Linked DNA regions of Homo sapiens: regions 1, 2, 3, 5, 6 and 7 are each linked to region 4. Evidence: promoter capture Hi-C in 16 types of primary human blood cells and fetal thymus (Javierre and others, 2016). All regions are on one chromosome and are shown on one strand. Each heading gives the region's core, a stretch centred on a gene start or on the middle of the fragment in contact. The rest is flanking DNA. Distances are from core to core; before and after follow the strand shown.

Region 1 (3,423 bases), core at 147-2,646, 550 kb after region 4:
AACAACAATCATCAACACAGAAGAAGACTTCTGTGACCAAAGTGTGGGGGTTTTTCCCCGGGTATCCTCCAATCAGTTCTAACATTATGTACCCAGAAACAGCAACAGATATCACATATGGAGGGCTCAGTCCTACAAGTCTGCCCCCTTCTCCCACCAGCCTCAAGTCCAGGCCTCCAGAACTCCTGACCGATCAGCTTCAAGTTGGGGTTCCCATGACCCTATCTTTGGGTTTGATTTATTTATTAGAGCAGCTCATAGAACTTACAGAAACATATTTACTGGTATGTTATGAAGGATATTTTAAAGAATACAAATAAACAGCCAAATGAAGAGATACATAGGGAAGGTCTGGAAGCATGGACAACTGTGTCACAATGTGACTGTACAGAAAGGATATGACCTGAATAAACCCAGCAAGGCCTGCCTGCTCAGGGTTTTCTGGATCTCTCTGTGCAGCATTCCTTCCTGCGGAGTATGGGGTAGAACCCACTCTGGAATGAGGTTCTCATGACCCACAATCAGATGAGAGTCCTGCCTTGGGCAGGTGAAAAGAAGGCAGGAGAAGGTCAGAGAGAGAGATTCCATTTTCTGAGGCCTGTTCCTAAGGCCTAAAGTACCCCAACATTGTGACAAAAGAATATAACAAAGATTATGAGGTTTCTGAGCTAGGAACTGTATATGAAAACCTGTGTGTGTGTGTGTGTGTGTGTGTGTGTGTGTGTGTGTGTGTGTGTGTGTGTGTGTAATCATATCACAAGAGCCATCATCATGCCTCACCCATCCTGGAAGAATACAACCTGAGTGGAGTTACAACAGCCATACGCTGCTCAGTAGCAGCTTTAATGTAAATAGAGGCTGACTCCCAAAGACCAGGTGGGATGAGCTTAACTAGAGCCCCAGAAGCAAGCAAAGAAGGACAGCACATAAATTGCCCACCTCTCCCCTGCTTCCTGGATACCATTAATTCACGCAAACCTTCCCTTGCTTCCAGACTCTATCTACTCCCTAGAGAGGGCAGTTAGAACATTTGAAGTGTCAGATTATTTATCCAAAACACACAGAGTTACCTTAAAATCCAGAGCCACATAAAATCAGCCACCCAAAATTTGAAAAGTACATACTCTGGCCCATCTGCATCGTAGGTTATCAAATTTGACTCCTCTGTACTACAACTGAGTATGCACACTGCTATAGGAACTAAGAAGGTCATTTTTTTTCAGACGATGGAGTTAGAAAAGGCTTCCCACAGGAGTAACATTGGAGGTGAACTTTGAAGGGCAAGCAAGAATTATCCAGCTATGAAGAAACAGAAGTGTATTTCAAGAAATGCAAAAAACATGAGTCAAGGGACTCTGGTAAACTTAAGTACAGCTTGTTCAGGGAAAGCAAAGTTGTCCGAGAGAAGGATTGAGCTTCCATGCAAAAAGAAATCAGGTTGAACAGGAAGGCTGCAGGGCCTGCCTATGGCCGTGAGGGTTACTCCTAGGACCTCTGAGTGGTTGGAGGCTGAAAAACAGCCTTTGCCCTGCTCTCTAAGGGCCCTGTGTACTCTACAGCAGGACAGGGTACACCCTAAGGATGAGACCACCTTTTAGAATGCAAAAAGGCTTGATTCTTTAGCTGAGCCTTAAATCGCAAGGCTTCCTATGCCCAGAGGGGGTGACTTCTCAATTTTGCACAAAGTCATCGTGTAAATTAGCAGGGATTCTTTAAATATGGTCAGATTATAGAAGGCCATGCAAATTTCTTTAAAGGATTTGGGTTTTAAGTAAGAACAGTGAGGAGCCACTGCAGGGTTCTGGGCAGGGGTATGACATGGCAAAAGAAATTATTCCAGCAGCAGCTGTCTGCAAGGCAGATTGGAGCCGAGAGACTCGGGAAGTTACCACAGTTGTCCAGGCATGAAGCAAAAAGGGAAATTTTACGGTATCCATGGCAACTGAAGGGGAAAAATATGAAAATTATTTTGAAGGCAGAAACAACGAACTTGATTACTGATTGGGTATGAGTGCGTGGAAGAGGCAGCAGTAATAAATGACTCAGGGGTTTTGAGCTTAGGAAGCTATGAGAATAAACCTGAAATGGGGACGCTAATCAGGAGAGCTGCTTTGAGGGAGAAAAGAGAGTTTGGTTTAAGACATGTTGAATTTCACATAATGATGAAATGTAGAAGTGGAAATGCTCTCTATACATGTAAAAGGACAAGACTAGGTCATTCTTCCTTTTCTTCATTATTTTTTTCTCTCTCCATGATTTTTGCATACATCTTAGGATCTTTCTCTGAGGGATGTTTGGGAATAAATTTACCACTTCCCTTACTTTTAGTAAACTGTGAAAAAGATCATCATTATCATCATCAACCTTGTCTTCAAGTTAACACAAAGTATTAGTCAACACCTAGTTGTGTTTCACTTTTATGATTCCATGCCCTTGAGAGATTTCCACTCTCTGAAACAGCCAATATTTGCAGGATCAATATGTAGAGAACAGAAAGAGTAGAATAATAATCATCGAATAATACCTACATAAGATTAAAAGTAGTATTCACACTCTACAGGAAGAAACAAAGAAAGAGGAAGGATACTATGCTAGGTTAAGACCTGTGGTCGGGATGCTGGTGATTGGAGATAAAAAGAAAATTAGCAAGAATTTCTTTTTTGGACAGGGCTAATTTAAGTCTTCTCCTTAGGAAGGAAAATGGATTTGGGATACTCCTTACATAATAATTATTATTTTCATTCATCTAGGACTTAACATTTTATACCCATTGTCTTATCTTCTCCATGGATTGCAAACCTTGTGCAAGACCATGTAGCTATTCTGCAGGAAAGCTGGGCCACAAACTGAAATTTCCAGCACGCCAGATTGAGTCATTTGAAGACGAGAAAAAACACAGTGTTTCATGAGGAAATTCAGCTACTTCTTAAAAGATCAGCATGTAAGAATCCAAAAATATTGTTGTTGAGGGCAGCTTCTTCAGCAAGCTCTCCTTCCCTGCCTTTTACAAACAGAAGTCCTTCTGTATGAAAGATCACAAGGGTAGGCTGCTCATCTCTGCCCATTTGAACAGCACATCCCTTTACTCATGCATTTCTGTTTGCCTCAGCCATGATGTTCCTGGATTTCACAAAGAGGGAGTTGTTTCTTGCACAGAGCAGTTCTGTGAGTCAGTGTGAAAAGAACTACCTGCCATATCACCTCCCACTATCTTAGAGAGGAGAGTCAACTTTGATCAAAGAGAGAGAGGAAGAAATGGTATGTTTTCTCTCTCTTGATTTTCCACCTTATTAATTTCCATTATAGTTTAACACTGTGGGTCCAAATCTGGGCTTGCAGTGAGGCAATCTGGTTCATGTTTTTGTCCCATTGATGGACACATTGTTTGCTTTGCTGTTAAAGAGATTTAGTGAAGTCTTTATG
Region 2 (3,381 bases), core at 189-2,688, 650 kb after region 4:
TTTTGAGAACCACTGTAATCAAGGATATGAGTATGTCCAGAGTAGTATTTTGTTCATGTAAATACTTTTTTACCAGGTGTGAGAAGAATGTAGATAGTAGCATTTGTTCCAGAATCTAGATGATAGCTCCTTGAGGCCAAAGACAGTCTTCACGCCTTGCAGAGTGCTTCACACATTGTATGTGGTCTATATGTTTGAGGGACTGAGGTTTACATCAGAAGTAAGTCTAAACTGAAGCAACAAGACAGAACAGGAGACTGATTAAGGAAAGATTTATGCATATTTTGTTGTGGGGAATGAGGAAGATGGAGAAATCTTTGAGTCTAAGATTTCTAGTGAAGATGATTAGGGGTATGATTAGGACAGATGACACAAAAAAAGCATACTTAGAGGAATTGATATAATTTTGGCTGTATCAAATTTGAGATGCCTGTGAATTAGATGGAGATGAATACTAAGCAAATGAAAATTAAAAAGTCAAGTATAATAGAGAACACTACTAATGAACTCAGACATCATCAAGGATACAGTAGTGGATGAAGCCTATGAGTATAGAGGGGTTTCTCCAGAAAAAGAAAGTAGAGGGAGAAAAGGGCTTTGGAAAATACCACCATTAAAACAGTAAACTAAAAAGTAGGAAAAGTCAGAAAGGTGGAGAACTACCAAGACAGCAATATTAGAGAAATCAAAGATGCATATTACAGGTTTGGCCCCTGCCCCCCCGCCCCTTAATCTACAACAACATAAACCTGTGTTTATGTTAATGACAGAAATGTCCCAAGCAATAAATAGACCCAGGTGGACTTGAAGAACATTAGGGACTCAAACATGGCTAGCACTTTCCATCTTTTTTTTTTTTCGGCTTGTAACTAGCTTCATTTTTTCTAGCTACAAAAGAGCTTTTTTTTTGCCTAGCAGGAAACATTACTAAAAATTACTGAGTTTTAAGTTGAACCAGTTCTGGCTTTGATGTTTCGGACAAAAGTCCCAAGAAGACAAGCAAGCATTATCTGGGTTTCAGCGTGTGTCCCTTGTGGATCAGTTAGCCAGATTTGTCAAAGGATAGTAAAGTTGTAGGTATAGCCATGTTGAGGTAAGGGGAAACTCCCAGAAAAAGAGGTATATAAGTCAGGGAAACAGTTCCAAAGATGTGTGCTATACTTCATATAGCAAAATAAAAGAAAAATTTCAGGAAACAAAATTAGGAAATACAAAATATAATGAAAAATATGAAATTTATCAGGTATGACAAATGTGATTACGTCAACTCAAAAGCCAATATATGCTTTTTAAGTAAAACCTGAAATAAAATGAAACAAAAAATAAATAGCTGACAAAGGTGTTTACTGCCATACAAATAAAAACGATGGATGGCAGTACTACTGTCAAACAGTTAGTATAGGCAAATAGCAGCTTCATGTAATACTAAATAAAAACAAATAATACCTAGTTTAAAAGTGAGAAGGAGAAATACCCAAGTACAGAAATAAAATGAGTTTCAAGCCAGGACAGTAAGGATGGAACTAAAGCCTAAAACCTTAGGGACAGTATTAGGAGTCTTGGCATTAGGTATAAGCCTTAAATGTTGGGGTACAGTAGCAGAGATGATGGAATTTTAAATGTGGGTAGCGACTGGAGAACAAAGCTCTAGGCGCCCCTGAGGCAACTTCTGGAATACTTTGAAAAGGTGGGCGTGATGAGAGTTGTCAAAGCAGAACTGGAACACTGCGGCCCGTGGTCTCAGGAAGAGACTGGATAAAAAAAGTCACCTCTGATAAGTCAACTCAAGCCAATTTTATGTGCTTACTGAGGTGCATACGTGAAGACTTGAATACATAATGAGAGCTATACATTGTTAATGAAAATGCTTAATATTATAAATTGCATTTAAAGTGTGCTCATATATAAATAAATATGACATAGTAAAGGTCAATCTCACATATAAAAGCATTTTTAAAATCTATAGAATTTCAATAAAATGTTTATAATTACTACATCTAGATGGTAAGATTATGGGTGTGATTTTTTTCCTTTTCAATCATGTGTTTTCTAAATTATCCTCTGCATTTATTCAGTAATTTTTTGAAAAAGAAAACAATAAAACGTTACGCATTTAAACAGGGATATGTAAGCCATTCAAGAATACATAAAACAAAAGTGCACACCCCAGCATATCCTTGTGATACTACAGTTGCTGACATAAAGAACAAAAATGAAATGTTCAGCCAGTTTCAATAATAAATATAAGTGCAGAAATAAAGTATCAGCAACATTGTGTACTGTTGGGTATAATTTAATGAAGGAGTGCAAAAAATGTTTGATATTACAAAGTCTTTAGTGAATTTGCCTCTGATTCAGAAGAGGTTAAGAAAACTCAATGGATATTAAAGGACGTTTAAAATTTTATTTTTCTATTGTACTTATCTGATTATTGCAGGTATATAAAAGAATTGTTCCCTTTATTATTAATCTTATATTTAGGCTTCTGTTTAGTTCTGAGTGTCTTTTCAGTTGATTTTTCAGGTTTCTTCCTGTGTGTGTGTCTGTTTCATGTCTGCATTTTTTCTAGTTATATTGTAGTCTCATTGCATACCAGCAAGAATAAGCTGACTTCGATAAAATGTATTAGTCTCCTATTTGAGACCTGTAATATCCTAGGCACTGAAAAATTTGGTGAAGGAATAAATTATGTTAATAAATGGACAAGAATACTTTGGGTTGAGTAAGAGGACTCAATTCGTAAAAGACGGCAGCTCTCCCTACCTAGTGTATAGTTTAAATTAGTGTTTAGACAAAATGATTCTAAATAATTACTTGGAAATGTTTTAAGATTTATATAATATAGGTGACTGTTAGAATCAATGTTTATGAAATTTTAGTAATTGAAATACTGGCACTAATTCCCTAACATTAAGGAATCCAGAATAGAAGAAAGATCTGAAACTGTCTTAGGGTGTGTATGTAACAAAGAGTTACAGTATCTAATATATATATATATGTGTGTGTGAATTTAGTGTATGATCAATTTGACATTTAAAGTTTTTCTTTCAATACAAAAACACTTTTTCTATGACTTAACAAATGTAAACATATGAAACTGTAAATATAATTTTAAAAATACAAAGTTTATCTGATCTCGAGGTTGGGAAGAACTGTCCAAGTATATAAAGAAAGAAAACATGATGGGAGGAAACACCACACCCAAGACTGTGTTGTTAAAGCACTGATGACTTCTGACCCAATTATAAAAGTGACCACAAAGCCAGCTTGCTTTTCAGAGTTCAAAAGAACCATCCTGTAATCTGTAAGATATTTGAGAAAAAATCCTAGTCTTAATGTTCATTTTCTTTAAGTGCTTTTTGGAAGTAAGCTGGGTATAAT
Region 3 (3,316 bases), core at 614-3,113, 680 kb after region 4:
ATTTTTTTCTAACTTTACTTTTAGAATATTGCTTACAATACATAAAACAAAAATGCTTCCAGTCAACAGCAGGCTATTACATTTTAGGGCAAAATTTATTATAGTTCTCAGTTACATAAGTGGGAGCTGAATGATCAGAACCCATGGACACATAGTGGGGAACAACATACACTGGAGCCTGTTTGGTGGGGGAGTTGGTCAACGGGGAGGGAGAGCATCAGGAAGAGTACCTAATGGATGCTGGGGTTAATACCTAGGTGATGGGTTGATCTGTGCAGCAAACCACCATGACACACATTTACCTATATAACAAACCTGCGCATGTACGCCAGAACTTAAAAGTTGAAGGAAAAAAAAATTTCATTATGGCAGAGTTTTGACTACATGGGTGGTCGGTGCCCCTAACCCCTCCATTGTTCAAGGGTCAAGTGCATATTAATATAATCAGAAAAATAACAGAACGAGAATTTTTTAAATTATTGCATATTGAAAGTGTACTCATAGGCAATTAGTATGCTAAATATATATTACAAGTTACGAGCAAAATAGTGGTTACATCGATTGATTTTTGAATAGTGGACCAGCCTTGCATTGATGTAATAAACTCCCACTTGGATGTGATATATAATACTGCTGCATTCACTTTGCTAGCTAACAATAGAAACTAAGATTAGAAGGAAAGCATATGTTTAGCTTAGCATGGTGGTTCCAAATCTGGCTAATCAAAATCAACTGGAGGACTTGAAAACACAAATTTCCAAACCCTAACTCTGCAGTGAGTTTGGTGTGCTGCCTAGGAACCTGCATTTTAAATATGCTTTCTAATAATATTTATGGAGCCAAGTAAGCCCAGCCATCTATTTATAAAGTGGAATAGTACATTGAGATTGTTGGTTTAGTGTTTAAAACAAAAGCAAAATATCTTTGAGAAGTCTATCAGGTTTTTCTTACACACGTGATAGACATGTAATTTAGTGCTTCCTATTATTCCAGGATACAGAAATGAACAATAGTGTCTACCACCTGGATGTACACTGTTTAATAGGTGAAATAGATATGTAAAAGCAATTAAAATATGATAAATGCTATGAGAGAGATGTAAAAAGTGTTATAGGTGATCTGATAATGGACTGATTGATTACCTGGCAGTTTTAAGGAAGCCTTTAAAAATAATATATTTGAACTGGGTTTTAAAGAATGATATAAATGTTGCTAATACACCAAAAAAATGTCATCTGCAAATATGGTTTGTTCACAAAATGGAGAGAAGGGGAGGATGATAGGACATGAGGCTAGGAAATGTAGGTTGCAGCTCAATGATGTGTATGTAGGGCCTTATTTTCCATTCTGAAACATAGTTAGTGGATTTATATCAAAGGATTTCAAATAGAAGAACATCATGATGAGAATAATTTTAGGATTTATATACTCTACTTTAGGGGGTGGAGAGTTCTTTTTACCTAGGCTTAGGGAATAGAAAGTGGTGTAGAGAATATAACTTCAATTACTTCTTTCATCATTTTTCTTCCTTTAGTCCACAAGCCCTAGCCATGCCGTGGTAGCCAATGTTCAGCTTGTCTTGCATCTAATGAAGCAACACAGTAAAGCTTTGTGCAATGATCGAGTCATCAACAGTATTCCTTTGGCAAAGCAAGTATCTTCACGAGGTGGTAAAAGTAAGAAGTTGTCAGTAACACCTCCCTCCTCCAACGGTATTAATGAGGAGTTGTCAGAAGTCTTACAGACTTTACAGGATGAATTTGGGCAAATGAGCTTGTGAGTTTTTGTTTTTTTTTTTAAATTCAGTTTAGCTCTAAAACCTCATTTTTTAAAAACTTGTTGACTTTATTAAATCTTACTTTCCTTTGTTGAGCAAGTATGGTTGAGCACAATCCTTATACCAACCAAGTTACTGGGACTTTAACAAATACAACTAATAAGGGTAAAATCTCTCTCTTTTTAAATACTGTTAAATGTTTTGAAGACCAAGGTTTATATTTAAGTTTTATTTCTTTGAGAACTTATGATATACAGTCATGCATCACTGAATGACAAAGATGTGCTCTGAGAAATACATCATTAGGCGATTTTCTTTTCCTTGTGCTAACATAAGAGTGTGCTAAGCTTATAGCTTATTGCTCCTAGGCTACAAACCTATACAGCATGTTACTCTACTACTAAATACTATATGCAGTTGTAACACAATGGTAAGTATTTGTGTATATAAACATCTAGGTAGAGTAAAAATATGATACTAAAGTCTTACGGGACCACTGTTGTATATGTGGTCTGTTGTTTACTACATCATCATCTGGCACCTGACATCACATTCATTTTAGCTAAACTTAACTGATAAGACATGAGTGTTTGAAGAGCAAGATTCATCTGTAGACTTTACATATACAATACTCTTTTGGGGAAAATAAGAATATAAAGAATTAACCTTGAAATTAAGAACTCTTGCATTTCCCTCTAGTGCCTTTCTTGAACTTTTAAATTCATATTTTTAATTAAAAATTTCTTGATCTAGGCTAGGCATGGTGGCTCACACCTGTAATCCCAGCACTTTGGGAGGCTGAAGTGGGCATATCACATCCTGGCTAACAGGGTGAAAACCTGTCTGTACTAAAAATACAAAAAATTGGCCAGGCATGGTGGCAGGCGCCTGTAGTCCCAGCTACTCGGGAGGCTGAGGCAGGAGAATGGCGTGAACCCGGGAGGCAGAGCTTGCTGTGAGCCGAGATCATGTCACTGCACTCCAGCCTGGGCGACAGAGCAAGACTCCGTCTCAAAAAAAAAAAAAAAATTTATTGCTCTGTTCAAAAAATGGAGTCATTTTTTAAACACATGGAGCAGTAACCCATAATGAGGTATAATAGACCTAACCATGAAACACAGAAAACTTAACCATGTTCTACTTCTGCTTTGTATATAGTGATCACCAGCAGCTTGCAAAACTTATCCAGGAGTCGCCAACCGTTGAACTGAAAGACAAGTTGGAGTGTGAATTGGAGGCATTAGTGGGAAGGATGGAAGCAAAAGCCAACCAAATAACTAAAGTTCGAAAATACCAAGCCCAGGTAACTCAGTTTTCCTTCACTCAAGTTTCTAATGATTAAGAAAAAAAAAACACTTTAATTCAAATATTAAATGATGACACTAAGTGTATCATAGATAAATATCTACAGGAGATACTTCTTTACTGAAGACATTTGTTCATTGAGAATTGGTAAGTGGATTAAGAAAGAAGACACTTTTAGTCACTTAGCATATTCATCTAAGAAACATCTTTCAAATACTGAATATATTTAATATT
Region 4 (3,547 bases), core at 813-3,312:
GCTTGTATGAACTAGCCTTGGAAGTCCCAGACCATCACTTTTGCCACATTCCAATGCCCAAGTAAGTCCCTGAGGCCAGCCCAGATGCAAAAGAAGGGGAATTAGATTTCATCTGTTGATGGAGGAATGGCAAGGTCATTTCTGAAGAGCAGCTGAGATGGAAAGTATTTTGTAGGCATTTATGGAAAATGCCATCTGCCACAGTAGTTACTATTAATATCTCTTTCTACACAGGAGAAAATTTCACAATGACCTAGCTAAGTTATATGATTAACCTGCTTGTTCAAGATCAGCCAGATCCAGATGTCATCTAATTTAGTAACCATTGTACTTCACTTAGGATAGTGTTCTAAAACTTTAATAAGGAAGGAGTCACCCCTTTCAAAAATGCAGTATTAGTATCAAGAATATGAAAACATAAATTCTAGTAAAATTTATAAAGTAGAAATATAAATTCTAGTAACACTTGGGATGCCATGTTCAATAAATATTACTGAAGGAGGAGCTAACATCTGCTGCACTGCTTCAGTGGTCCAGGCACTCATACACTATATATAAACTCACTTAATCCTCACAGTTATCTTTTCCCCCCAGATGAAAGTGAACTTTAGAGGGATTAAATGCCTTGCCCCAAACCAAGTAACCACTTAGCGACAGAGCCAGGGTTTGAACACAGTCATGTCTCAGTCCACATTCCATGTGCTTTCCACTGAGCTCCATGTTACAGGTTGGGCTCCCCAGGAATCAGTCTCTGAGATGACAGTAGCATGCAGGAAGTTAGCAAAAAAGTGCTCAAGGGGAACACACGTGGGGAAGGGGAAAACTCAGGATTAGGCAAAGGAGAAGGTGGGCAGGTAGAACTAGAGCCAAGCAAATGCCAGCCAGCCTTTTTGGAGGGTTTGGGTGGATAACGGACAATGTCAAAAACAGCATTAATTTTCAATCCTGGGTGGTGGAAAGACTATATATATGTATGTATATATGTATGTATGTATGTATGTGTATGTGTGTATGTATGTGTGTATGTATGTGTGTGTATGTATGTATGTATGTATGTATATGTATGTGTGTATGTGTGTGTGTGTATGTATGTATGTATGTGTGTATGTATGTATGTGTAATTTCTCTATGTCAGACACTGCTGGGTTTGTGCTCCCCTCTATAATCTACTGATTGTGGGACTTCACACGAGGTACAAAACATAAGTGACCTAATAAGCCCTCTAGACAGGGCTTCAGGGAGGAGCCAAGGCTGGCACATAGTCAGAGGGCAGGAAAAGTTCCACTCCCTCCGTGTGATTAGGAGGGCTGCTTTGTTTTCTTCCCAGGCAGAGACCTCAAAGAAAAGTGTGACTTGTGGCAATCATTGGAATGCTCTAACGGGAGGGAGCCCTAAGCTAAGGGGAGGGGCTGTATCAGCCCCGGGAGGGCGAGGGACAAAGGGGCATTGTTTCCCTGGAGGGCAGGCTGGGGCAAGGCTGACTCCACTGCCGGCCTGGGCGTGGGCAGGTTTGCTCCCGGGAGGAGAAGGCCTCCATCCTGGCCCACAATAGCCAACCCAAAACAGTTCTGGCAAAATTAAAAGACGCAGGAAAATGCCAGCGACCGTTTATTTTCTCCTAGGGTAGATGGGGGAGAAAGCAGCTCCTTTTTCTGGGCTGAATGGAGTCTCAGGGAGGGGGCTAGGTGACAGCATCGCCCTTTCCTCTCCGGCTATTGCGCACCTTCTGGAGCCTCGCTCAGCCTGCTCCCTCCGGCGTAATACGCCAATGCTGCTACCCACAACGCACAGACCAGAAACCAGGATAGACAGAAGCCTAGAATGGCCTGGCATCGAGCAGGCCCAGCGCAAACGCAAGGTCTCTTCCTCTCCTTTCGGTGAACCCCACGCCCAGTCCCGAGAGAGAGAGCGGATGCTCATTTCCGAAAGCTGGCAATCCTGCAGTGGCCACTGGAAAAATACATATACGTGTGTGTGTGTGTGTGTGTGTGTGTGTGTGTGTGTGTGCGCGCGCGCGCACACAGTGCATATCGTGCCCATCTACAAGGAAACCTGGAGGCTCCACAAACAACTTTGAGTCCCGGGAGGGCGGAGGTGGAGAGAGATTCTCCGCTTGGATAAGGGCGGCTGGATAGCCGAGTACTCTCTTTTGGGGCTGTTGGCCGTCTCCGGAGTCTCGGGAGCGCCTTGATGTCCCTTCCCAGGGCTCGGGTTCCTTTGAGAGAATCAAGAGGAAGGTGTTTTTCACTAGGACTCGCGGTGGGCCCCACCTGCCTACCGTGGCCGGCCGGGAGCTATTACAGCAGGGTCTGCCCGTCCGACGACGGCGGCTCCAATCTGGGGTCCCGCCGGCGCCGACCCCTCAGCTCTCTCCCGATACCTGCTGGCCTCTCTCATCTTTGGTGGCACTCGCCGCCACGGGGACGGTGAGATCAAAGAGGTAGACCTAGGCCAGGAGGGACTGCCAGGGCTCCTTCCCGCGGGCCAGCCTCTCGTCCTTCCTCCCGGGACGGGGCTCTTTCCCTTTCTCCGGATGCGGGCCTTTGAGAGTCAGCGACGCCTTAGACTCCTCCCAGAAAAATGCACCCTCATCTACCCAATTCTGCCCTACCCTTTGGAGCTCCTGGACCCTCTAACCGCTCGGTGGGGTCAGAGCCCACCCCCGGAAGGGCCGCTGGTCGGGGACTGGTTCGCCCTCTCCTGGCCTCCTCGGACCAGTGCGCGGGGAGGATCCCGCTAACGCCGGGCGCCTGCAGACCTTGAGCGGCCTCGCCCTGGTGACCTCCCCGGGAAAGGCTGGGCGGTGCTTCCACAATGAGGGCCACCTGTTAATTTGCACGAGAAAGTGCTGCCGAGGGCCCACACGTGCGAATCCACCTGTGGAGTGCGTCCCCTCTCTGGGGCCAAGGCCTAGGGGAGGCCGAAGCGGAGAAGTTGCCTGAAGACTGGGAAGTAAGAGTAGGGGCGTCGGAGGAATCGAAGTTGCAGTGACATCAGGCTCGGACAGCCGGCGGACTCCTCGCAAGGTGATCGGATACTTCCGAGAGCCCCACAGTCCTCCTGGGCCTTTGCCCTCGCGTCTGGGATGCGCTCGGGCGCCCCCAGTCTGCGATGCGTTCGTACCTCCAGTAGGGTGACGTTTTCGCCGGGCCCCTCTGCGAACAGTCTCCGCCCTCCTCCACTGTGAGATATTTCACAGTTTCACCCGCAGAGGGCAACCTTATTCCAAGTTCCCGAGCGCCCTAGGCCTCTTTCTCCTCCCTGCCTAACTGGTGAGGTGGGACTTCAATGCCTTTTAGGTTTACAGTCTTTTCCTCCCCACGGCTTCTCTTTCCTCCCCGTCTCAGGCACTGGGCATTTCCAGTCGATCCAGCAGGTCTGGCTTCTCTCACATATGCAGTAAGGGTTAGGGGAGAAGGTCCCAGCTCCTCTTGTCTCTAGCAGAGTGTAAACTGGCTCTGCTGAGGAGGTGGCTGTGCTTTTATTCCTTCTCCTGAGAACTGTTTATATATTAAGGAGCTTCACAGCCTCCAACATAAGGAAAGCA
Region 5 (3,733 bases), core at 392-2,891, 600 kb after region 4:
TGTTTGTCTGGATAACTATTTTCCCTCTCCATTTTTGAGGGATAATTTTGCTTAATATAAAATTCTCGGTTAACCTATCTTTTTTAGTCTTCTTTCAGTACTTTAAATCTGTTGTTTTATTATGTATTGGCTTGTCCCATTTCTGACAAAAAAGTCTGATATCATTCTTATCTTTGTTCCCTTTTACATAATATAGAGTTCTCTTTTCCTCTGGCCATTTCTAGGATCTTTATCATTGGTTTTCAGACATTTGATTAATATATGCCTTGGTGGATTTTTTGTCTGATGTTTGTATGATTGTATATTAATTTTATGATTTTTATCCAATTCAGAAATTCTTTTTCTTTATATTGATTTTATGATTTTTATCCAATTCGGAAATTCTCTTTATTTAATCTAATACTTCTAAAATCCCCCTTTTTTCTTCATGGATTTTAATTACATAAATGTAGAGCACTTGAAATTATTCCAAAGACTTCTGAGGCTCTGTTTATTTATTTTGCTACTTTTTTTTCCTTTTTCTGCTTCCATGTGGATAGTTTCTATTGCTACATTTTCAATTTCACTGACCTTTTATTCTACAGTATTTAATCTATTATGTCCCTCCTGCAATATTTTCACTTTCTATATTGATTTTTCATCTCTGGGAGTTCCATGTGCTTCAATTTTTAAATATTTATTTCTTTCCTCACTAACTTCATTTTAAAAAAAATTCTTGAGCATATTTGTTGCAGCAATTTTAACAAATATTTAAATCCAGTGTATGTTAATTCCACTTCTGTCATTTCTAAATTTGATTCTACTGACTTGTCTTTTTCCTGGTTATGAGCCATACACTTCTTCATGTGTCCAGAAATTTTTACTGGATGCTGGGAATTGTGATTGTTACACTGCTGAGTGTCCAAATTTTGTTGTCTTCCATTAGAGTGTATTTAAGTTTCTTTTGGAAGGCAATTAAATTACTTGTGGATCAACCTAGTCTTTTTGAAGCCTGTTTTTAAACTGTTAAAAATGTCTAGAGTAGCTTTTCCCTTAGGGTTAGTCTAGCCTACTACTAAGGTATAAGTCTTCCAGGGTCTGTATTTAATGTTTAATGAGGCCTCATCACTTTGGCCGGTTGGAACTCAAGGAACTTTCAGTCAAGTATGTTCTCTGGAAATTGCTTATTTTGCAGCACCCTAGTGGTTCCTTGCTTGGCATAAAGTTTTCATCCTTAGCATGCATAGCTTAGTTTTCAGCAACAGACTCAAGTGGACCTATATGCAAATTTCTGGTGCCCTTTCTCTGCATGGCTCCCTACTCTCCAGTTTCCTACTCTACAAACTACAGCTACCTCAGCCTCTTCAACCTGTAGTTTCTATGTCTTCAACACAACAAGACCACTGAGTTCTGTTTGGGTTCTCCTGCTATGTGCTGTCCCTAAAGTACAGAAAGCTGAGATCATTTTAGGGCCCACATTACTGATTTACCTTCTCTCAAGGATCACAGCCCTGTACTACCTTTCATCCAAAGTCTGAAGACAGTTGTTTAATACATTTTTGTACAATTTTCTAGTGTTTCTGGTAGGAGGCCAAGTCCAATTTCAGTTACTTTATGGAAGTCAAACACTGGTTTGATTGCTATTATACTCTAGGCAAAATGGTTTCTGATTTAAGTAAAAGTCACATTAATCTACAAAAGACAACCTTCTCCTTCAAAGACCATAATAATCTCTTTTTATCATTAAACAGACTTTGAGGAAGAGCAAAGAACAAATGGTCAAAGACGGTTGTTTTGGCAAGGTTTTCATAATAAAGTTTCTCCACCCTTTTCATTTAGCAGCAATCTCCTGCCTAACCACTTTTCCTCACCTCCATCCTTGGTTCTGGACTCCCATGTAGCACACTTTGCTCCTACTTTTTTCAAAATATCTCTCTACAGAATTTCTTGCCTAATTATCCATCTGTTCAGCCTCCAACTCCCCATTCAGGGACTATGTAGATGGGCTCCAGCAGTGGTGGGGAGACTAGCTCAGGGTTTATTGCTTTTTATCAAGGTAACACCTGTTCTTTTCAGCAAATGCCTTCCGGAGACAATAGTTCTGCCTTTCATGTTTAACCCAAAAGAAAACAGCTAATCAATAATCACTCCTCTTGGCCAGTCATTGAGACTAAACATTTTAATCAGATGAGGCTTTAAAATAAGTCTCCAGGAAGACAGTTAATAGAACTGGAGAACCTTTAATATATATCTCTCTCCTTCTAGTATCTGGAAGAGCAACAGAAGGAAGCATTCAAAACAATTCCTACCTAATTGACCTCTGAGGTTGATGCAGTTGTACGTGGCAAGGATGTACAGGTTGTTTTGTTTTGTTTTGTTTTACGATTTTAAGTATTTCATTGAATGGAATGTTTGGATTCATTTATTTATTAATGCAAGAAATGTTTATTTCACTCTTACTTTGTTTCACCTGCCTTGTGCTAGCCATTCCCTAATGATGAATTGATATGGTTTCTGTCACCAAGGAGCTCACAACCTCTTGAAGGAGCAAAACATAACAGGATCATTATAACATAGTGTGAGCTCATTTGATAGAGACATGCTTAGAGAGCTATATGAGCACAGAAGAGAGATTAATTCTCCATGCTTCCCATGACCGGGCACCATTTCAGTAATAGCTTATGGACAATATACCTGAGTTTCTCAGTATTGAGATGATAGTTTTAAACTAGTAATGTTGTAAGAGATATGAGGAACAGTGAATGAAACTTTACAAAATGAAATGGGTGTCTGTAGGGCCTGTGAGGAACTGCTGATTTAAGGCTAAGGGAGGATGTCTTCATGCTCAATGCTCAGATCATTATCAGAGACAAAGAAATAAGGCAAGAGAGCAGATTTGATGTAGTTAATTGGATGAGGGAGCAAGCCAGAACTCTGTTGGAAGGCTGAGTTATGATAGCCAACAAAGGAGAAATAGAATTGACTAAGAAGCATGTTCTTTATACAGCAGTAATGCCTAACCTGAGATCCATGAGTAGGCTTCAGATGTATTGGAGGAAAGGAACCTCCCCATCCCTGAAATTGTCTTCACATTTTTGGATGTGCGCACATTTGCATTTTTCTGGGAAAATGTTCCATAGCTTTGATCAGGTCATCAAAGTGTCACACAGCCCCTAAATATTAAGAACTACTGCTGCATAGTAACTTATCGTGTAATGGCAATGAGTTATAAAACCAAAAGCCTCAAATTTGAGACCTGCATCCTCCATGTTCTAGTTGTGTGACCTTGAACATGTCCTTTTATTCCTCTATGCTTACACTTATCATCTGCCTACCTTGTGGAATTATTGTGAAGGTCAAAGGGTTTCATGAAATAAAAAGTGCTACACAGTTGTTATCTACCAAGACAACAATTGACTTAAATAAATGCAAATACAATTTATTGGAAGTTCCTTATTACTCTTTTAAATATGGTAAATCCATTCTAGAGGTTAATACCTATCCGTGTGTGTGTGTGTGTGTGTGTGTGTGTGTGTGTGTAAACTTCCAAAAAATTTCAGTGTGAAAGTTTTCAAGCTTACACAAAAGGAGATAAAATTGTATAAAGAACTCCCATGTACTTCTCATTGGTTTCATAATATCAACATATATCCAATCTGGTTCACCTATAATCCGATCTCCTCCTCTTTCCCTCACTGGGCTATGTTGAAGCAAATCCAAGACATCATATTATTTTATCTACACATTGTTTAGG
Region 6 (3,659 bases), core at 452-2,951, 690 kb after region 4:
TTTTGCCCACCATAATGAGCTTAAAAATACTTGAAGGCTTTTCTGACAAAACCAATGGTGATGATTAACAAGTGTGATTTTATGGTATTATATGATGAAATGCATTTACATTTGGAAGATCTGTGTAACTCAATAAGCCAGTATTTTCCAAATAACCAATATGTGATGTTACAAAACCACACATGGGTAAAAGATCTATTCAAAATGGAAGTGAGACCAATGGAATTTAATGATAAAAAAAATTCATTAACTTGATTTTGGATTCCATATAACAACTAACCTCTAAGAAACTACCATTTATCAAGTTCTGGCGTAGTATCAAAGAAGAATATCTACAATTCCCTGAAAAAGCTATTAAAATACTTTCTGCTTTTCCACTTACATATCTGTATATGGTTAGATATTCTTCATATACTAAAACCAACAAAACATAACAGATTGAAGGTAAAAATAGATATAAAATTCAGCTATCTTCTATTAAGCCAAACTCATTAAATTTGCAAAAGTAAAACAATGCCAGTCTTTTCATTAAACTTTTTGTTTTGGAAAATATTTTTTTTAGTTTAAATATTTCTGTTAATATATAATAAGCTTATTTCCTAAATTAAGAAATATTTTTAAATTTTTTCAAATTTAATTTTCAATATGGCAAATATTGATATAACTCACATAAAGTTCTCTGGGTAACAAGTTTGGGGAGTTAGGAAAAAAAAGTTCTATCCATAATTGTTAACAATGTAAAGGGGGTCCTGAAACCAAAAAGTTTGAGAATCATTACTCTACATTAACCTTGTGAGCAAATCCTCTTGACTGGGTGCCCTTTAATTGTCAAGATTCTATTTTCAGAATATAACTAGGTAAAAAGAACGGGGGGAGTAGGTAACCAGAGTTAGCAATTTAGGAATCCATAGCAACTTCGAACACCCCAAAATGTTTGATTTTGAACACATTTATATAAACATGTGCAGCTTTGGCTGACTAAAACTTGATTCTTTGAAGTACGAGTTTGTTTTAAATGGCCGTTTCATGATAAGTACATTGTGTAGAGAACGGCAAAATGTGAGCCATCTGAATAAACACTCCAGGTACCCAATTTTATTTAACAGTTCAAGTTCAAAAGAGCAGACTAACTTTAAATGTCTGTTCCTTTCATGTTACAGTTAACCCTTGAACAACACGGTTAGAACTGCACAGGTCCACTTATATGCAGATTTGTTTCAGCCAAATGCAGGATGCGGAACCCACATACACAGAGGGCCAACTTTACATGGTCCCAGCAGGGCCAGCTTCAGAACTTGAATATGTGTGGATTTTGGCCTGTTCATGGGATCTGGGAACCAAGCCCCCACATATACCAAGGGACAACTGTATAAACACTGCTAGTATACTCTGGTAACTACTGGATACTAAAGGTAAACATTACAGACAGCATCTGGGTAAAGACCCTTCTAAAAGTTTTTCAATTATTTAGGAAAACGCCTGCCCAGAAACACCCGTGGACATCACTGAATGATATCCGATGTTTCCCAGTGGAGATCACAGAAAAGACTGGGTCAGACACTTGACAAATAGCTAGCTCTGACTCCAGACTAGTCATGTTAGGGATATCTTAATGCTTTCCAAAACAAGCAAAAACGTTTACCCCACTAGATAAATGATCAATTTCAGATGAATATCTTATTTTAAAAAACACATTTTTTTCACATGCCTTGGCATGAATGCATGTGATATATCCAAAGTCAAGGTTCCTTACTTACTAGTTGAAATCGATGTCCAAAACTTAGCCATTCTTTCTCCACAAGGACTTCAAATCCTCGGATGGTTCGATAGTATCCATCCAACATGAGCATGGCAAGGGAAGTGAGCTGAGCTGTGCGATCCCAACCATCACTGCAATGCACTACCACAGACGTCTTCCCTGACTCTACCTTGTCAGCAATCCTAAGAGCCCCTGCAAGAATAAGCTGGAAAACAGATTTTTTAATACATTGTTTTTAAACAAGGTAAATACTTCCTTCTTCAAAATTTACTAATACAGCTTATCAGGGATCATTATTTCAATAACATGAGGAAAAACATTTGTCCCTTCCTAAGAAGAATTTTTTTAAATGGTAGAAGATATATAAATTTTGCTTTTAAAACTAGAAAAACCTCATAATTGCTGACTCCTATTAATTTGCCCAACGAAATAGCCAAATCAAAAGTACCTTTGGGTGCTACATAAATCATGGTGTAAGATTCTTCTTAGAAAAGTTCTAAAGAGATCTGTTTCTAAGAATCAAATATTCCATCATCTATTTAAATAAAAATAATTGATATAGCAATTGAAGCCTTGTTATGATTTAAAACAATGCTTAAACCAAATTGGGATAAGCACCTGAAAGCAATAATACTGGATCTCTTTAAAATACTCTATAGCAGTTATTGTATTGTTTTGACTAAAGATTTTTATGTCACAGAGCATACAGCAAGCACAGTATAAACTTTAGAGTGAGCTACTTTTCTGTAACACTGCATGAAAATTCACAGAATATGTCAATCTGTTACTTAAAATAACTTCAGCTCTTATTTTTTTAAATATGCAGAAATCCTTTGCAAAATAACTTACCTTTTCTGAAGTCAATCTTGAGTTAAAACTAAACATAATTAGATATAACCAAAAAAGAAACACAAAAGTATGGTATCTTAAAAAAAAAAAAAAAAAAAAAGGACAATACAGCCCTATTCTTCTCTGCAATGGCCATATTGTATTATACTTGAAAAACAGTATAGTTCTACATACGCAGATGAGAATGAAAGAAAACAGATTATTAAGCTTGGAAGTATGATAACCTCCCCTTGATCACAGCTATAAGCATATTCTGGAAATGGGGTACTATGACGATCTTGACTATATATCAAGAGTCATTTGTAAGCCTGAAGTGCCTAGACCTCATTGTCCAATGATCCTAATTCAGTATCTTAAATAAATTCCACCTATAATTCTAGTGCATATACGAAGTTAAGAATCACTAACCCAAAGGCTTAGTTAAGATTGATCAGGAAGAGTTATCCAAAGTAGTAATTGTTCATTCATTCATTAAATAAACATTTATGGAGTCCCTTACTAGAAGGTAGATACTGCTCTAGGCACGGGCCATACAGCAGGGAACAAAGTTCCTGCTTACTGAAGTTTACATTCTATTTGGGTGAGGCCCACCAGTCACAAATAAACAAGGAAATATACAGTATACCAGATGGCAATAAGTGAAAACGCTCCATAGAAGTTATAGGGAATGCTGGTAGAACTCTTATTTTGTAAAGAGGCTGGGAAAGGTCTCTCTCAGAAAGGTGATATTTGAGCAGAGACCAGAAGAGAGTGATTGAGTAAATAAACTTTCTTTGTGTGATAAGGATTGGGGGAGAATAAAGTAGTTTAGCCCAACTATATGTCTTATAACTCTAGGGAAATTTGATTCTGTTATAGCCAGCCTTTTAGAGACCATGTTGAAACTGCAAATTAAATATCTGGAGTTTTCAGAATCAAACACAGCGATTTATGTTAGTTCCAAATCAAGCCTAAGGCTGTATATTTACACATCACATAATTTAATGAATGGGCCACATGAACATGCTCTCTGAGTAGTGTTTATACTTTGTGATTTTCAAGCTTCTAAGCT
Region 7 (3,387 bases), core at 650-3,149, 770 kb after region 4:
AGACTAAGATGGCAGATTATTACCAATATAATGTCAAATTCTGCTGTGTAACTCATTACAGTTCTGAGACTCAAGCCTACTCTTATTATCACATCTGACCTACAGTATTATTTTACCTATATCTTATAAAGTCATACTTATATCAAGAATCAGAGCACACCCAACAAAAGTAAAATTACAGAATATAACTAGATTATTAGGATGCTAAAGTGAAGTTTTCCACAACTCCCTCTCTCTTTCTGTGGGGATAGATATACATGAAGAATGGCCAACAGCAAGATATACAAGAGTTGCTGAACAGTTTACTGAAGTATGGCAATATTAAGCAGGACTCACCAAAGACAACTATTGTTTTTTTTGTTTTTGTTTGAGATGGAGTCTCACTCTATTGCCCACTCTGGAGTGCAGTGGTGCGTTCTTGGCTCACTGCAACCTTGGCCTCCCAGGTTCAAGTAATTCTGGTACCTCAGCCTCCCAAGTAGTTAGGGTTACAGGTGCGTGCCACCACGCCCAGCTGACGATTACTTTTTTTTTTTTTTTTTTAAAGATGCAGGATGACATAACTATAGCTGGTTAGGAAACTACTACCTGGATATCATATGAAGAATGAAATTGCCCTTTTGTGGGCAAAAGCATCAGATCTATGATGACCTAGAAGGCATAACTGGAGACAAGAGAACTCTGAAATGACTACAGATACTTAGTAAGACTCATCACATGTTTATTGTGAACTACAGATTGCACAACAGCCTGTAATCCAACTTCAATGGAGTATGTCATTTTCATTTTTTAAAATATTTTTACTTATTTTAAAAAGTCTTTCTTTTTTAGAGATGGGGCCTCACTATGTTGCCCAGGCTGGTCTCAAACCCCTAGGCTCAAGTGATCCTCCCACCTTGGCCTCCCAAGTGCTGAGATTACAGGCATGAGCCATGGCACTCGGCCAAGTATGTCATTTTCAAAAAACAATGGGCAACCACATGGATTAGTGTATCATCCTTCCTACTTCCCAAAAGGGCTTCAGACATCTAATCAATACATTTAAACATAACACATAATATTTAACTTGAGTTCATGTAATAATAAAAGTACTTAAAGAAATTAGAGATGAGTATATTACCACCTTCAGATATAAATTTGACTAAAGTTTTACTAAGCTAAAGAGAAAGACGCAGTTATATAGTTACCACTTACTAACAAACAAGGAGCATACATAATTTTTTCTATAAATAATTTTCTTTGTAGCTAAACTCAGCAGAAATTTATGTTAATGCATGTGTGAAAAACATTCTGTGACACATTTAACAATATTAACTATTATTCTGCCAGAGATATCAAAACAAATTCCAAAGGCAGTTTCCCAATTAGGCCTCTGTATAAAAACAGAAAGCATAAAAATAAACTACAATTTAAGGGAATCATTTCTGCAAAAACTGAGATAATATAGGCCAAACAGCAATAATTTTGCTTTGTCAAAGGCTAATGAAACAAAAGAAATAACTTAAACAATCTAGATAGACACTTAACATAGCTATGAGACCAAAGCAGGCCACACTGGCAATGTATTAGAGTCACCTGCGATGAAGTGTTAGCCTAGATTGTTTAAAATTAAGCTTTCTAACTAGTGTCTATAATGTATCTATTACATACTGTTGATTAAGGAGAGTGCCACAAACAGGTATGATGATTAATGAAATAAAAGATACATAGAATTTAGCAGGGAAACTTCCATACAGTAGACATTAAGTAAATGTTACTTTTCTACCTTCCAGAGGAGAGTAATGAAAGCTGGCATTCTCTTATGGAAAATAGGAATCATACTTATATTTTTGTCCAGAGAGGATTAGGCTAATCTACTATATCACAATTCTCTCGAGGAGTACTTAATTTTCTCAAATTTGTCAGTAACATAATTTTTTATAGAGAAGTTCATATACATATATAATCTTTATACTTGCTGGGCTTTCTGTTTTAGGAAATAAATATGTTCAAGTGGCACCGTTAGGTATATTAGTTTGTAATAATAAAGGACACTTATTTCGTGTAATTGCAAAAATCCAAAACAAAGGTTATTTGCAAAGGAATTATCTTTAAAATTAATATCAATGCATTCATCTTAGTATTGTCATTAAAATTTTAAAAATGACAATGTTAGAGTTCCAAGGGACCTTACAGATTTTCTAGATCAAGCTTCTTATTTTAAAAGATGAGAAAACTGTAGACTAGAAAGTCTAAATGAAAAGACCAAAGAGCTAGCTCAGCCAGAGACTTCAGCATGGGAGCTTCCTAACTTCCAGTACTTCCTTCTTTCTAACATACTGTGCTGCTTCATGTGGTTCTAACTTCTCTGCCTTGGATGAGAGTACTGGTTGCCTCTTATGCTATTCTGAGGCATAGTTGTCATTTGTAACTTTCCCATAAAATTCGAATTTTCCAACCTGTTTTCTGAATGAATTACACAACTGAACATGTTAATCCTCAGCTTTCCAAATTTCAAAGCAATAAATACAGAATTCAAAAAATACTTGATTCAAACGTGCAATATATATAATCAAACTGCAAAGAAAAATCCTCCTTTCCTGGATAATTCAGGCTACAAATTCGAAAAAAAAAAAACCATTTAGTGAGCACCTATCACATGCTGAGACTATGTTAAGTGCTGGAGATATGAAGATGATTAAGATTGCCCTCAAGTATAATAGCTTATAACCTGGTAGAAAAGGCACTTTAAGCCAACAATTATAGTGTGCTTATTAAAGACTCTGAAAAACGACTGTGCAGGGAGCTATGAGTGCATATGGCAATGTAGAATGACGGGATCAGACAGTGGTTCCCCAGTGAGGTGCTGAACATCAACAGGAAAAAAGGCAATAACTACCCATATTTAGCAGAATCCAAAATGAATTATAATAGAGCCACTTCAACTGATTGAAGGAGAAAATGAAAATTGTGTGTTTTCACACAGCAGTTATCGAATCACTCTCTAATAACAATTAGACTATTATTCAGTGGAAAAGAACCAGATTTCATCGTGGCTGCATAAAAAGCAAATACAGGTCTTATATTATTTTTTAAAAAATTTTTAAATCATTATTTTAAAATCAAAGAAAAAGACTGCATCCAAAACGCGTCTAGTTAATATTCATAAAAGCTCTCTGCAAAGCTGCATAAAGTCCTCCTCAAAATTCCAGGATAAAATTCCCATCTGTTACAAGAGAAATGACAACGTGGAGAACCAGTAGCCCAAGAAGGAAGAAAACTACCACTCATTTTGTTTTCTTAAACCTATCACTGGGGATAAAAACCACTCAGATTCCTTGATACTGACTTTCAGCTGGAAGATTTAGAAAAGAGAAGCACAGGAGACATTTTTATTTACATATTTAA

The links. Contacts are between HindIII fragments. The CHiCAGO score rates a contact against its expected background, and 5 or more counts as called.
Region 1: a fragment that was not itself captured here is called in contact with the fragment with the promoter of LNCRNA-IUR in region 4 in 17 of 17 cell types (total CD8 T cells, megakaryocytes, M0 macrophages and 14 more); the score reaches 30.4 in total CD8 T cells.
Region 2: a contact is called between a fragment that was not itself captured here and the fragment with the promoter of LNCRNA-IUR in region 4, in 1 of 17 cell types (naive CD4 T cells). The highest score is 5.5, in naive CD4 T cells.
Region 3: a fragment that was not itself captured here is called in contact with the fragment with the promoter of LNCRNA-IUR in region 4 in 3 of 17 cell types (erythroblasts, naive B cells and total B cells); the score reaches 7.1 in erythroblasts.
Region 5: a fragment that was not itself captured here is called in contact with the fragment with the promoter of LNCRNA-IUR in region 4 in 17 of 17 cell types (M2 macrophages, megakaryocytes, non-activated CD4 T cells and 14 more); the score reaches 16.5 in M2 macrophages.
Region 6: a fragment that was not itself captured here is called in contact with the fragment with the promoter of LNCRNA-IUR in region 4 in 1 of 17 cell types (erythroblasts); the score reaches 6.5 in erythroblasts.
Region 7: a fragment that was not itself captured here is called in contact with the fragment with the promoter of LNCRNA-IUR in region 4 in 1 of 17 cell types (erythroblasts); the score reaches 5.8 in erythroblasts.

What each region holds. Positions count from the first base shown.
Region 1 is chr11:95,696,282-95,699,704 of GRCh38, forward strand. It overlaps LOC107984377 (a long non-coding RNA gene), which reads left to right and starts at 3,076. Exons shown (of 2, transcript XR_001748337.2): 1 at 3,076-3,258. The HindIII fragment of the contact is 4,092 bases long and covers 1-3,423 here.
Region 2 is chr11:95,802,846-95,806,226 of GRCh38, forward strand. The region is part of intron 2 of CEP57 (centrosomal protein 57); the gene reads left to right. Among named protein-coding and RNA genes, the nearest start is that of CEP57, 14 kb to the left of the region's middle. The HindIII fragment of the contact is 4,822 bases long and covers 1-3,381 here.
Region 3 is chr11:95,826,252-95,829,567 of GRCh38, forward strand. CEP57 (centrosomal protein 57) reads left to right here. Exons shown (of 11, transcript NM_014679.5): 9 at 1,535-1,776; 10 at 2,936-3,080. Among named protein-coding and RNA genes, the nearest start is that of CEP57, 37 kb to the left of the region's middle. The HindIII fragment of the contact is 517 bases long and covers 1,606-2,122 here.
Region 4 is chr11:95,148,477-95,152,023 of GRCh38, forward strand. It overlaps LNCRNA-IUR (lncRNA imatinib upregulated), which reads left to right and starts at 2,063. Exons shown (of 3, transcript NR_110303.1): 1 at 2,063-3,272. RefSeq lists enhancers at 1,849-2,390, 2,391-2,932, 2,533-2,662 and a silencer at 3,183-3,292. The HindIII fragment of the contact is 7,632 bases long and covers 1-3,547 here.
Region 5 is chr11:95,745,762-95,749,494 of GRCh38, forward strand. No RefSeq gene overlaps it. Among named protein-coding and RNA genes, the nearest start is that of FAM76B, 42 kb to the right of the region's middle. The HindIII fragment of the contact is 3,824 bases long and covers 1-3,553 here.
Region 6 is chr11:95,843,196-95,846,854 of GRCh38, forward strand. MTMR2 (myotubularin related protein 2) reads right to left here. Exons shown (of 15, transcript NM_016156.6): 11 at 1,758-1,964. Among named protein-coding and RNA genes, the nearest start is that of CEP57, 55 kb to the left of the region's middle. The HindIII fragment of the contact is 2,224 bases long and covers 590-2,813 here.
Region 7 is chr11:95,919,957-95,923,343 of GRCh38, forward strand. The region is part of intron 1 of MTMR2 (myotubularin related protein 2); the gene reads right to left. Among named protein-coding and RNA genes, the nearest start is that of MTMR2, 2.5 kb to the right of the region's middle. The HindIII fragment of the contact is 577 bases long and covers 1,612-2,188 here.